Regions from separate parts of the Homo sapiens genome. Here all the other regions are linked to region 2. The links are contacts of gene promoters, found by promoter capture Hi-C in human tissues and cell types (Jung and others, 2019). All regions are on one chromosome and are shown on one strand. The core of a region is centred on a gene start or on the middle of the fragment in contact, and the rest is flanking DNA. Distances in the headings are between cores, read along the strand shown.

Region 1 (4,423 bases), core at 335-2,834, 140 kb after region 2:
TCCCCGGCACTCAGCACATGCAGGGCCTGGACCTGCCCTGCCTGTGTTGAGGTGTGGCCTCCAGGGACGGTGGGCGTGGCTTCCAGAGAGCACCACTCACCAAAGTTGGACTCGCCGCCCAGCTCCTTCCCGTGGCGGATCATGCACTCGCCCAGAAGCCCCTCCGACTGCGGGTAGCCGGGGTTCTTCACCTGGCCCCGGATCTTGGACACCGTGTTGAGCATGGTCAGCTTAGCCCGCGAGGCTGGGATAGGATGGCCAGGTGGGTGTGGGCTGTGAGGCCTGCACTCCTCTGCCCTGGCAGACTGCAGCCCCCACATCTCCTCCCCACCCTTGCTTCCTGTGCCTGTGGACAGCCTAGGCCACACAAAGCACAGTGGAATCCCCAGAGGGTCCCTTCCCTGCTCCTGCTAGCCTCAAAGGAGCTGGCAGCGGGTGGAGAGGTGACCAAGCTCCTCAGGGGGCAAAACCTCCTCCTTCCAAGGGCTGCTCCTCTTGGAACGTGGCTATGACCCCTCATCTGGGGGGTGCCAGGGAGGAGGCGCAGCAGTGATGTGCAGCGGGGGGTGGTTGAGGCCAAGGCTCCCGGGGTGGGTGATGAGCTGTGTCCCTTCCGCTGCCCGCTTGGGTCTGCTCCTGGCAGGGCCTGAGTGGACACTGCTGGGTGTGCGTCTGCCCCCTGTCCGTGGCCTCCTATGGAGCCAGCATTTGGGTTTTCCTTGGGGAAAAGCCCGTCTCTCAGCCAGGGAGACCCAGTCCCAAGCCCAAGAGGTGAAGTCCAGGCCAGGGGCACTGGGGAGGGGCGGCCAATACAAATGGATCCCACAAGTAAGCTGGGGGAGAGGCTCCCTGCCAGGACTGCTGGCTGGAAGAGGGGTTGAAGGCTGGGACGGCCCTGAGGAACCAGTCGGCATGAGAGTGAAGCCAACAGAGGGGCTGAGCTGCTGGTTGAGGTGGAAAGGCAGCATGCAGCACCAAGGATGGCCTCTGCACTCCGGGATCCAGCTGTGCCTGAAGCCCACAACCCATGAGCCTGGCGGTTCTGTCATCCCCTGCCTTCCCTCTGACACAGAGGCCAGAGGGCCTGGGGCAGGCCCTGGCAGTGGCTGGAGCACCCACCTGGGTTGGGCTGCAGGTACTCGATGGTCCTGGCCAGCACTTCTGTCACCGCCTTGCTGGTGACATCCACCTTCTGTGAAGAGAAGCAGCATATAAGACTCCACAGCCAGTGGGGGCCCAAGGCACACAAGACCCCCGCTGCTGCACCGCCTCCTGCCCTAAGAGCCCATACCAGGACCCCCCAACCCCCTCTCCATGTCTTCAGCTCAGCCATGTCCCCACAGCTGCCTGCCCACGGCAGGGGAGAGAGCTGGTGCCCGTCAAGTCCAGCTGACGAGGCCCCCACACCACCCCATCTCTCCACACCTGCCGGGCCCCATCACTCCAGACCCAGGCCCATCAAGGTTGGCCGCCTCCACTATGCCCGGCAGAGGTCAGGCCCCAGCAGTGCCACCACCACACAGAGCACGCAGTTTCTTCCTCACCTTCTCCATCTCTTTGAAGTCATCATCCAGCTTGGTCCCCTCGGCCCCTCCGACCTTCTCACTGACCAGCTAGAGGACAGAAGAGGGGAAACGCTGTGAGCCCAGGGGTAGGAGGAAGAAGAGGACAGGAGGCCCTGAGCCGCCTTCCAGCCACATCGCATCCACAGCTGGAGGCAGGAGGCCAAGTGATCAGGACACACACCTCAGGCACTGCCGTGGGCACCCCAGGGCCACACGCTGCCTGCAGAGCAGGGTGGGCCTGCAGGGGGAGGGGGAGGGTGGGGGTGGCCTGCCCACCTGTGTGTGTCCCGACTGCCACTCACATACCCACTGGGGACCCTGCCACAGTAGGCCCCATCTGGGCCACGGTGGAGTCCAGAGCCTCAGCCTGAGAACACATGGCTCAGAAGACACTGCTTCCAGAAGCGCCTACACAAACATCCCCACAGATAGCAATGTGGGGATCTGCCCCCATCCTTGAGTATGTGGGGTCTACTTAAAAAAAAAAATCCTGCCAGCTTGGCTGGGAGAGGCAGCAGGAGCTGACAGTTACGAGAAGAGGTGCAGGCAGCCGGGCAGGGAGGCCGCCATTCTCCTGTGCTCTGGTGCCCGTGTCTGCAGGATGGGACAGCCCAGCCCTTGCCCCATGTGGACACTGAGTTTCACAAGGCAGTCAACACAGGCCTGGCACACCTTGGTCCTCACGGCTCTCAGCTACGGTGAAAGCGATGACAATGACAGGCACTTACAGCGTCTTTCCTCGTGTGGTGGGAAGGCAGAAGCAAGCACTGAATTCCCAAACCACTCCCTCTGACAGCGCCTGGGATGCGAAAAACAGCCCTGAAATGTCCCATGGAACATGGCGGGAACCACTGAACCCCAGCACCGCTGTCTGAGCACAGGCGTTGCTTTCTTCACCCCACGTATCCCATGTGTGCCTGGCGCCAAGGGATGCCGCACAGAGTGAGGATGGACAGTGTGAGGCCCTTCCCAGCACACAGCGCTTCATGAAGAGCCGAGTGGCTGCCAGGCCCTGCCACAAATGGAGGCTCCCAGAGGGAGGCCGCCTGAGGTCACAAGCTTGGCCCTGCCCTCTGGGGGCCAAGTGTCACAGGGTGTGCCATCTCTGAAGTCATCGGCAAATTTAACATCCCGGGTCTGATCACTTGTGTGAAGACGTGCACACACGGCCTGGGCAGGAGAGTGAGGTGTTGCGTGCCGTGGGCCATGGCCTGTGCCCCTGGTGCTCCCCAGGTCTGATTGGTGCTTGCCTGCCCCGAGCTGTCACAAGACGTGGCCAAGGGATGCCATGAGGGTCCGTGTGGTGCCACACTGCGTTGGCTGTGTGGGGCTGGGGGGTGTCCAGCAGGGCAGTCAGGAGTTTAGGACCCAGCCTGGGAGGAAGTGACCCAAGAGCAGGAAGTGCGGGGGCAGGAGAAGCTTGAGCCTGGGGCTCTGCCCACGCCAGGCACCTGGTGTACCCTCTAGCCCATGCCTGGAGGTCACAGCCCAAGGCACCATGAGTGCAAATGCCCCCAACCCCAAGTTCTGCAAAAGGTAGCCTGCCCGGAGTACACGGCTGGTCTTGTGTCCTGGCAACCTGCCCAAAAAGACACCAGCCCCTTTGCCAAGGAATTCCTGGCCCTCCTCCAAGGCTTGGCTCTGGAAGCCCCCACACCACGGGACTGTCCTCACCCACGCATCGGGACCCTTTCTGTCCACCTGCCTTCATGTGCGGGGTGTGCCGGGCATTCAGTGAGCACAGGCCCCATGCCTCTGACCCCTGTCCCTTTCCTGCCTGTGGGTTGGTGGCTCTCAACTCAGCCACACAGCACCTTGGAAGCTTCTTAAAAATCCCCTCGTTGGCCGGGCGCGGTGACTCATGCCTGTAATCCCAGCACTTTGGGAGGCTGAGGCAGGCGGATCATGAGGTCAGGAGATCGAGACCATCCTGGCTAACACAGTGAAACCCCGTCTCTACTAAAAATACAAAAAAATTAGCCGGGCCTGATGGCGGGTGCCTGTAGTCCCAGCTACTCGGGAGGCTGAGGTAGGAGAATGGTGTGAACCCGGGAGGTGGAGCTTGCAGTCAGCAGAGATCCAGCCACTGCACTCCAGCCTAGGCGACAGAGCAAGACTCCATCTCAAAAGAAAGAAGAAAGAAAAAAAAAATCACCTCGTCACACCCACCGCGGGAGGGCTGACTCTGGCACAGGTGAGAAGCAGGAACTGTCCCTTGCGGGGCAGGAGAGTGGGGCTGCCCTCCATTTCTGCTGAAGGCATTAGGAGGAAGGAGCCCCCCCTCCCTAGGTGTTTTTGGGGCGTTCCACTCTATTTCCTGGGACAGTTTCACTTCTTTTGATTGTGGCGAGAGAGGGCGTGCTCAGAGCCAGCGGCTGCCGGAGAGGGAAATGAGTGGCTGATGTGAGACTGGACTCTTCTGGGAAGCCGGGAGGAGAACTGAAGCCAGCGGGCTGCGAAACCACACCTTCTGGGCGGAGGCCACCCCGGCCCCACGACCTGCCCAGGCAGGACCCAGTGTGCAGGCTGGCAGGAGTGGCTCCGTCAGGGCCCTTCCCCAGCCCCCTGCCTCTCACAGGGCAGGAGGAGAGGCCCTACCGGCGAGGACCACATCCTGCCTCTGAGGGGAGGGGCTGGGGACCCGCCACGGTACCAAAGACCCACCTGGTGGCCTCTGGCTCTGGCCCTGGCCCCACCTGCCCATCTCACCTGGGAATCCAGGACCCTGCCTTCCTGAGCCCCAGGACGACTTCCTGAACCCCCACAACCGCCTGACTCCTCGCACCCCTGACACCCGGGAGGCTGTGCCCTAACTACCCGGGTCCCTCTGCTCAGCTCCAGCCAAGTCCCTTGTGGTG
Region 2 (4,860 bases), core at 491-2,990:
CTCTATCTCTGTCTATCCTACTCTCTCATCTCTGTCTCTCTGTCTCTGTCTCTCATCTTCCCATCTGTGTCTCTCTTTCTCTGTCTTCCTCCCTTATCTCTGTCTCTGTGTCTCTCTCATTTCCCTATCTCTGTCTTCCTCTCTTATCTCTGTCCCTCTGTCTCTCTTCCTCTGTCTGTCTGCTCTCTGTGTTTCTCTTTCTGTTTCCATCATCTCCCTGTCTCTCTCTGTCTCTGTGTCCTCCTCCTCTCATCTCTGTCTCTGTCTCTCTCATTCCCCTGTCTCTCTCTGTCTCTATCATCTCCCTATCTATCTCTGTGTCCTCCTCCTCTCATCTCTGTCTCTCTCTGTGTTTCTGTCTCTGTCATCCCCCTTTCTCTGTCTCTGTCATCTCCCTGTCTCTCTATCTCTGTGTCCTCCTCCTCTCGTCTCTGTCTCTCTGCCTCTCTCATCTGTATCTCTCTCTGTCTCTGTCATCTCCCTGTCTCTGTCTCTCTCTATCTCTGTGTCCTCCTCTCATTTGTCTCTCTGCCTCTCTCATCTGTATCTCTGTCACTTTCTCTGTCATCTCCCTGTCTCTCTATCCCTCTATCTCTGTGTCCTCCTCTCATCTGTCTCTCTGCCTCTCTCATCTGTAGCTCTCTCTGTCTCTGTCATCTCCCTGTCTCTCTATCCCTCTATCTCTGTGTCCTCCTCTCATCTGTCTCTCTGACTCTCTCATCTTTGTCTCTGTCTCTGTCTCTGTCATCTCCCTGTCTATCTCCGTGTCCTCCTCCTCTCATCTCTGCCTTTCTCATCTCTGTGTCTCTCTCTGTGTTTCTGTCTCTGTCATGCCCCTTTCTCTGTCTGTCATCTCCCTGTCTCTATCTATCTCTGTGTCCTCCTCCTCTCATCTCTGTCTCTCTCATCTGTATCTCTCTCTGTCTCTGTCGTCTCCCTGTCTCTCTATCTCTTTGTCCTCTTCCTCTTGTCTTTCTCTCTGCCTCTCTCATCTGTGTCTCTCTCTGTCTCTGTCTCTGTCATCTCCCTGTCTCTGTCTCTCTCTCTCTGTGTCCTCCTCCTCTCGTCTCTTTCTCTCTGCCTCTTTCATCTGTGTCTCTGTGTCTCTCTGTCATCTCCCTGTCTATCTCTGTGTCCTCCTCCTCTCGTCTCTGTCTCTCTGCCTCTTTCATCTGTGTCTCTCTGTCTCTGTCTCTGTCATCTCCCTGTCTCTGTATCCCTCTATCTCTGTGTCCTCCTCTTCTTGTCTCTGTCTCTCTGCCTCTCTCATCTGTGTCTCTCTCTGTGTCTCTGTCTCTGTCATCTCCCTGTCTCTCTGTGTCTTCCTTCTGTCTTCTCTGTCTCTCTGCCTCTCTCCCCCATCTCTGCCTCTGTCTCCCTCCATGTCCCTGAGCCCCTGCCTGCCTGCCTGGGGTTTCCCCCGCTTCAGGGCAGCGGAAGGAAGGCCAGCAGGACATGCTGTGCTGGGAAAAGCCAGCAGGTCTCCACTTCTCCCTTTCACAGCCTCCTCCCCCGCCCCCACCCTCGGGGCCTTCCGAGCAGGGGTGGCCTGTGCTCCCCAGGGGGCTGGGGCTCCTCCACACCCTAATTCATCTCCCTAGCGGCCCCACGAGCCCCACCAGTGAGTCAGACCTGAAGGAAGTCGGGGAGGGGGCGGGCCTTGACCCTGGGCTGGGCTTTCCCCTGGGCAGGTCCCAAGTCCTCACCTCCCCTCTCAAGTCTCCCACGACGTTCCCACCCACTCCTGAGAGCAGAGCTGGCCGCAGCCATGACCCCGCAGCTTCTCCTGGCCCTTGTCCTCTGGGCCAGCTGCCCGCCCTGCAGTGGAAGGAAAGGTATGTGGGGCCCCTGGGGGACTGGGGGGCCCAGGCAGACGGACATGACACGAGGACTGGCCTCGGATCATGTCTGGGGTGGGAAATCACATCCTCCCGTGCCCAATGGTGGGATGGGGTTACCCTCCCATTGTACAGATGGAGGAACTGAGGCACAGAGAGGCAGAGTGCCACATTGGGGGTGGAAGGATGTCACCTTGTGGGTGATAGGGACTGGCAGTCACAGCTCAGAGGTATCCATAGAGCTACACAGACATAGCTACACAGACATGCGAATTTGAGTCACACTCATTCCTTTGGTTTCTTTTTGGTTTTGTTTTTTGAGACAGAGTCTCACTCTGTCGCCCAGGCTGGAGTACAGTGGCACCATCTCAGCTCACTGAAACCTCCATCTCCTGGGTTCAAGCGAGATTCTCCTCCCTCAGCCTCCCGAGTAGTTGGGATTACAGGTGCCCGCCACCATGCCCGGCTACTTTTTATATTTTTAGTAGAGATAGGGTTTTACCATGTTGGCCAGGGTGGTCTTGAACTCCTGACCTCAGGTGATCCACCCACCTCGGGCTCCCAAAGTGCTGGGATGACAGATGTGAGCCACCGCGCCCGGCCGACATTCATTCATTTTGCACTAGAGAACATCTCCATGTCCTTGAAGACAAAATGGTTACAGCAGGGCATGGTGGCTCATGCCTGTAATTCCAGCACTTTGGGAGGCCAGGGCGTGAGGATCGTGAGGCCAGGAATTCGAGACCAGCCTGGGCAACATAGTGAAACCGGACCCCACCAATCTGTACAAAAAATTAAAAAATTAGCTAGATGTGGTGGCACGTGCCTGTAGTCCCAGCTACTTGGGAGGCTGAGGTGGGAGGATAATTTGAGCCCAGGAATTGGAGGCTGCAGTGAGCTATGATTGTGCCACTGCATTCCAGCCTAGGTGACAGAGTGGGATACCTTGTCTCAAAATAATAATAATAATAATAATTTATAGGCTGGGTTTGGTGGCTCACGCCTGTAATTCCAGCACTTTGGGAGGCCAAGGCAGGTGGATCACCTGAGGTCAGGAGTTTGAGACCAGCCTGGCCAACATGGTGAAACTCCCTCTCTACTAAAAATACAAAAATTAGCCAAGCGTGGCAGTACATGCCTGTAATCCCAGCTACTCGGGAGGCTAAGAATCGCTTGAACCCGGGAGGCGGGGGTGGCAGTGAGCCGAGATCTCGCCACTGCACTCCAGCCTAGGCGACAGAGGGAGACTCCCTCTTTAAAAAAAAAAAACAATTACAAAAGAGAGAACACGGTAAAATCTCTCTCTCTTACCCGAGTTCCTCTCTGTAGATGCTTAAACCTCAGCTTCCCTATCTGGAAAATGGGCTAGTAGTCCTCACCTAGATGGATTGCAGTGGGGATAAAAGATGACAGATGACTTTTGTCCATGTACCTATTTATTCCGAAAGCCTTTATTAGGCACCTACCATGTACCTGGTGCTGGCTGGCAACGTGGCAGGAGCCCAGCGCACGGGAGGGCTATGACAATCTGGGGGTAAACCAGAAGCTCACTCTTTCTGTCTTCCTCCAGGGCCCCCAGCAGCTCTGACACTGCCCCGGGTGCAATGCCGAGCCTCTCGGTACCCGATCGCCGTGGATTGCTCCTGGACCCTGCCGCCTGCTCCAAACTCCACCAGCCCCGTGTCCTTCATTGCCACGTACAGGTCGGAGAGCCTGGAAGGGGGCCTCAGGGACACTGGACTTCCTGGAGAGCCCAGAACTCTGGCCCTGAGAGCCCTGGGGTCAGGAAAACTGGAGACCCCGACATCCTGAACCCCAGGCCTATGGAATTCTAGGGCGGCCCCGTCCAATAGAAATATACTTTCTGGGCCAGGCACAGTGGTGCATGCCTGTAATCCCAGCGCTTTGGGAGGCCGAGGTGGGCAGATTGCTTGAGGTCAGGAGTTTGAGACCAGCTTGGGCAACGTAGTGAGACACTGTCTCTACGAAAAATTTTAAAAATTGGTCAGGTGCAGTGGCTCATGCCTGTAATCCCAGCTACTCCGGAGGCTGAGGCAGGAGAATAGCTTGAACCCAGGAGGCGGAGGTTGCAGTGAGCCAAGATGGCACCATTGCACTCCAGCCTGGGCAACAGAGCAAGACTCCATCTCAAAAAAAAAAAAAAAAAACTACTTCCTGGGTTGGGCACAGTGGCACATGCCTGTAATCCCAGTACTTTGGGAGGCTGATGTGGGAGGATCACTTGAGGTCAGGAGTTTGAGTCCAGCTTGGGCAAAATAGTGAGACCCTGTCTCTAAAAACAATTTTTAAAATTAGCTGGGCATGGCCAGGCGCGGTGGCTCACGCCTGTAATCCCAGCACTTTGGGAGGCCGAGGTGGGCGGATCACAAGGTCAGGAGATGGAGACCACCCTGGCGAACACGGTGAAACCCTGTCTTTACTAAAAATGCAAAAATTTGCCAGGTGTGATGGCACGCGCCTGTAGTCCCAGCTACTCGGGAGGCTGAGGCAGGAGAATTGCTTGACCCAGGAGGTGGACGTTGCAGTGAGCCAATATTGCATCGCTGCACTGCATCCTGGTGATAGAGTGAGACCCCGTCTCAAAAAAAAAAAAAAAAAAAAAAAGAAAAGAAAAGAAAAGAAAAGAAAAGAAAAAATTTCGAAAAAGAAAAAAAAATTAGCTGGGCATGTTGGTACTTGCCTGTAGTCCCAGCTACTCTGGAGGCTGAGGTGGGAGGATCACTTGAGCCCAGGAGTTTGAGACCAGCCTGGGCAACATAGCAATATCCTGTCTGTACTTAAAATCAAAAAAATTAGCTGGATGTAATGGCACACATCTGTAGTCCCAGGTACTTGGGAGGCCGAGGTGGGAGGATCACTTGAGCCCAGAAGTTCAAGACCAGCCTGGGCAACATACTGAGACCCCCCCCCATCTGTAGAAAAAAAATTTAAAATTAGCCAAGAGTGGTGATGCGTGCCTGTAGTCCCAACCGCTCTGGAGGCTGAGACAGGGAAGATCCCT
Region 3 (4,785 bases), core at 357-2,856, 190 kb after region 2:
CAAGGGTGTCTTAGATGTTTTTTATATTGGGATGGAAAGATGGAGCTCTTTTTAACAGCTGCGTGATATCCCATGGTGTGGACATGCTGTAGGTTACAGAGCTGTTTTCTCAGTTCTGCTGTTTCTGTGCTTGGCTTTCACAAAATGATTGTTCCCTTGAGCTTCCTTCTACAAGTGGCCTTGGGCTGTTAAGGAGAATGAGGTCTTGGTAGCTCAAGGCAATGCGTGCGTTCTTATTTTCCCAGCTTGCACTCTCTCATGCTTGGGCCAATTGGAGGTTTTCTCTTTTCCCCCCTGCCTCCGCTCCCCTGCTGTCAGGTTTTAGCGGCTTATCTGGTCTGGGCTTAGAAATTAGATACCCTTTAGTATAAAATCAGAGTCCATAGGCTCTGAGAGGATTATCTGAGAAAGGGTGCAGGAATTTTCATGCCCACACATAGTGAGCTCTGTCGCGACTCCTTGGGATTGTCGGTTTTTGTGTTTTGGCTTCCTTCTGGGATCCTGGATCACGTTTTTGGCAGTTGAGGGTGCTGTCTGACCGGGCTCCAGCTGGGTAGAATGTGGGAGTGTTGCATAGAATTTTGAGAGTGAGATCTATAAACACTTGGGTCAAATTTCAAGAAGATAAAGTTCTGTCAGACTTCAAGGTCCATCTGAGGGTTTGGCAAAGCAAAAAAGATACCAGTTTTAAATTAAGCAGTAATTGCTCTGTTTTGGTTGTTGGATATTACTGAGCGGGCTCTTGCCAGTCACATCAAGTCTGTTATCTCTGGACTCACAGCAGAGGGGGGGCATTGTAAGAGGCAGGAGATTCTGCAGCTGAGCTTCAGGCATGGGCAAGACTAAGGAACTGAATTCCCCGCCACCCCAAGACCACATTCCGTATTATAATCTCTGAACACAAAGGGCAGCCCCGGAGAGCTGCGGCTCCCATATTCTGCAGTTAAATCCCTCAGCGTGGGGGAGAGGCACACAGCCTTGGCAGGCAGAGTAGATGCTGGAGAGACAGATGCTTTTTCTGCAGCATTTGGTGAGGCTGCCTCGGGCTGGCATTTCTGTTGCCACATTCTCAGCAAAGACTGAACACCCTGGCCTGATCTCGGTGGTGAAAGAGCTCCTGCCAACACGGGCAGCCTTCTCACAACGGCTCGGCCTTTCCCTAAAGAAAGGTTTAGTCCAGAAAGGACTCAGTGGGACCCAGGTGGAAAGGCTGTCTTGAGCTCATTCATCTGAAGCTTTTATTCTGTGAGAGGTCCTAGTCAGGGGTTCAGCTTTCCCAGATAAAGAAATCACTGTTGGCCGGGCGCGGTGGCTCACGCCTTTAATCCCAGCACTTTGGGAGGCCGAGGCGGGCGGATCACGAGGTCAGGAGATCGAGACCATCCTGGCTAACATGGTGAAACCCCATCTCTACTAAAAATACAAAAAAATTACCCAGGCATGGTGGTGGGCACCTATAGTCCCAGCTACTGGGCAGACTGAGGCAGGAGAATCGCTTGAACCCGGGAGGCGGAGCTTGCAGTGATCCGAGATGGCGCCACTGCACTCCAGCCTGGGCGACAGAGCGAGACTCCGTCTCAAAAAAAAAAAGAAATCACTTACATAATTTTGTTGACCCCTCAGACCATTGCCAGGAAAATGGGCCTTTGGTTTTTCAGTCAACTTCAGTCTTACACTGCAAGTCTGCAATGAACCCGGAGAACTATTTCTTCCCACTCTTAAGCGTCTCTTCCCATTGCTCTTCACTTCTACTAGTTTGGTTTTCAGGATTCCCTGCCCCGGTGGGAGATAGCTTAGGCCAAAGTCCAGACTCCCTGTTCGTCTTCCTTCCTGGGACCATTTAGGTGGATGGTGAGTCACACCATGGATCCTATTGGTAATTCCTAGTAGCTCATGCTCAGTTTGAAGGTAGGTGATAGAAAATATTGTGCCCTAGAAGGTAGAAGTCCTAGAAAACCCCAGCAAGTTTCCCTTTTGTCTTAAGCTTTCACTCCACATTCTAAAAAGCAGAGTTGGCTGGGCGCGGTGGCTCACGCCTGAATTCCTAGCACTTTGGGAGGCGAGGCGGGTGGATCACCTGAGGTCAGGAGTTCGAGACCAGCCTGGCCAACATGATGAAACCCCTATCTCCACTAAAAATACAAAAATTAGCCAGGTGTGGTGGCACACGCCTATAATCCCAGCTACTCAAGAAGCTGAGGCAGGAGAATCGCTTGAACTTGGGAGGTAGAGGTTGCAGTGAGCCGAGATCGTGGCACTCGCTGCACTCCAGCCTCTGTGACAGGAGTAAGACTCCATCTCAAAAATAACATTAAAATAAAAAGCAGAGTTGAGCTAGACAGAATGTAAATTAGTGGTGCACAGGAAACCAGCCTGGAGACATGTTTTATTTGATTAATTTAGTATCTTTTTATTTTTTTTTTAGACAGTCTCACTCTGTCACCCAGGTTGGACAGCTCAGTGCAGCCTCAACCTCCCGGGCTCCTCCCACCCCAGACTCCTGGGTAGCTAGGACTACAGATGTGCACCACAACACCCGACTAACTAAAAGCTTTTTTTAGAGACAGGGTCTTGCTTTATTGCCCAGGCTGGTCTTGAACTCCTGGGCTCAAGTGATCCTCCCGCCTTGACCTCCCAAAGTGCTGGGATTACAGGCATGAGCCACTGTGCCCGTCTGTGTCCATTTTTAAACACCTAAAAAAATTCATATGAAATTCCTAATATCAGCTTCTCTTGGAGAAATTGGAAGGACCAGCAAATAGGGATCTATATTCCTGTAAGAACTCCATCTCCTTTGGACAGGCAGGTCCTCTCTCCTTTGCTACAAATCCATCCTCTCCCTGTCGCCCAGGCCAGCTGTCGCTTTTTTTTTTTTTTTTTTTTTAAGACAGAGTCTCACCCTGTTGCCCAGGCAGGAGTATGGTGGCGCAATCTCGGCTCACTGCAACCTCCTTCTCCTGGGTTCAAGCGATTCTTCTGCCTCAGCCTCCTGAGTAGGTGGGATTACAGGCACCTGCCACCACGCTCGGCTAATTTTTGTATTTTTAGTAGAGATGGGGTTTTGCCACGTTGGCCAGGCTGGTCTCGAACTCCTGACCTCAGGTGATCTGTCTGCCTCGGCCTCCCAAAGTGCTGGAATTACAGGCGTTAGCCACCGCGCCCAGCCTTGTCTGTTGCCTTTATTTCTGAGCTTGCCTTGTTTTTCTTGTGCTTGGTGTCCTTCACTCATTTCTTTATCTGCCTCCGTAGTCTCTCTTGTTATCTAATCCCAGATACACACATGTATGCACACTTACTGGAGTTTGTGACCCTATTATGACATTTTGGTTCTGTTGGTGGAAAAACTGATCACCTGGAAAGGTTTCTCTTTTTCTCGAAGCAATTGAAATAACCCGTGTTTAAAGATAAACGTCTTCTGTTTTCAGATAACTAAGAAATTCGTCAAAGGCTCTACAGAGAAGAACAAGCTCAGACTGCAAAGAGTAAGACATTTTCCCTGAAATAGAAAATTAACCTGCTGTGCTTTTTGCATTAAATAGTAAGCAAAGCCCTTTGAAGTTCCTTTGGTCTAGTTTTTACATTTTCCCCAGCCTTCTCTGACCATCATTTTGATTCCTGCTTCATTTTAAGTACTTGGACTTCATGGTTTGTGGATTGTGTCATTTTTTGGCTTGCTGAGTGAGTCCTAAGGTTTTGTGTGTGGCCTTTTCTAAGCTTTTATCAATAGTGCTACCACTGTCTTAATGGTTCAGTATCCCATTGTAGCTTCAAATTACCTTCCAAAAACCCAGTCCATTTCCTTGTAGTCCTGTCTCTTTTTTTTTTTTTTTTTTTTTTTTGAGACAGAGTCTCGCTCTGCCACCCAGGCTGGGGTGCAGTGGTGCGATCTCGGCTCACTGCAAGCTCCACCTCCCAGGTTCACGCCATTCTCCTGGCTCAGCCTCCCCAGTAGTTGGGACTACAGGCATCCACCACCACGCCTGGCTAATTTTTTGTATTTTTAGTAGAGACGGGGTTTCACCATGTTAGCCAGGATGGTCTCGATCTCCTGACCTCGTGATCCGCCCGCCTCGGCCTCCCAGAGTGCTGGGATTACAGGTGTGAGCCGCCGCGCCTGGCCAGTCCTGTGTCTTTCACTTATTGCTAAGTGCTATAACATCTGAATAGCCTCTACACTCGATGGGTGGTTATCCTTTAGTGACTCTCTGCTTAGTCTCCTATTCTGTGGGGGGCATCACCACGTTTTCCACACAGCAATGCAGGGGGCTTTTGTTTTGTTTTGTCTTTGAGACGGAGTCTTGCTCTGTCACCAGACTGGAGTGCAGTGGCACGATCTCGGCTCACTGCAACCTCTGCCTCCCGGGTTCAAGCGGTTCTTCTGCCTCAGCCTCCCGAGTAGCTGGGACTACAGGCACTTGCTGCCATAGCCAGCTAATTTTTTTTTTTTTTTTTTTTTTTTGTATTTTAGTAGAGATGGGGTTCACCATGTTGCCCAGGCTGGTCTCAAACTCCTGAGCTCAGGCAATCCTCCCGTCTCAGCCTCCCAAAGTGCTAGGATTACAGGCCTGAGCCACTACACCTGGCCGCAGGGGACTTTTTACTTATTGCTTAAAGGTTAGAGAAATTGAACATCATGTCATACCGAAACAAACCAAAACTCCAGGGAAGGCCTCTGGGCTTTGCCTATGCAGTGCCAGCTCACAGGAGGGGCCTGGTGACCATGGGCTCTGCGTTTACTGAGTGTTTCCTGAGCTCCCTGATGTTCACTGGGCGTTTCCTGAGCTT

Evidence for each region. The method cuts DNA at HindIII sites, captures the fragments that hold promoters and counts their contacts. A contact is called where the count stands out against the background at its distance.
Region 1: a contact is called between a fragment that was not itself captured here and the fragment with the promoter of EBI3 in region 2, in 1 of the 25 tissues and cell types used here (dorsolateral prefrontal cortex).
Region 3: a fragment that was not itself captured here is called in contact with the fragment with the promoter of EBI3 in region 2 in 1 of the 25 tissues and cell types used here (dorsolateral prefrontal cortex).

The regions. Positions count from the first base shown.
Region 1 is chr19:4,365,382-4,369,804 of GRCh38, forward strand. It overlaps SH3GL1 (SH3 domain containing GRB2 like 1, endophilin A2), which reads right to left. Exons shown (of 10, transcript NM_003025.4): 2 at 1,545-1,613; 3 at 1,120-1,192; 4 at 101-244. Among named protein-coding and RNA genes, the nearest start is that of MPND, 24 kb to the left of the region's middle. RefSeq lists enhancers at 541-1,462, 3,611-4,423, 3,919-4,108. The HindIII fragment of the contact is 3,201 bases long and covers 1-3,185 here.
Region 2 is chr19:4,227,783-4,232,642 of GRCh38, forward strand. EBI3 (Epstein-Barr virus induced 3) reads left to right here and starts at 1,741. Exons shown (of 5, transcript NM_005755.3): 1 at 1,741-1,835; 2 at 3,409-3,541. The coding sequence starts at 1,769. RefSeq lists enhancers at 1,961-2,050, 3,014-3,515. The HindIII fragment of the contact is 27,598 bases long and covers 1-4,860 here.
Region 3 is chr19:4,414,595-4,419,379 of GRCh38, forward strand. It overlaps CHAF1A (chromatin assembly factor 1 subunit A), which reads left to right. Exons shown (of 15, transcript NM_005483.3): 4 at 3,426-3,482. Among named protein-coding and RNA genes, the nearest start is that of CHAF1A, 14 kb to the left of the region's middle. The HindIII fragment of the contact is 3,051 bases long and covers 82-3,132 here.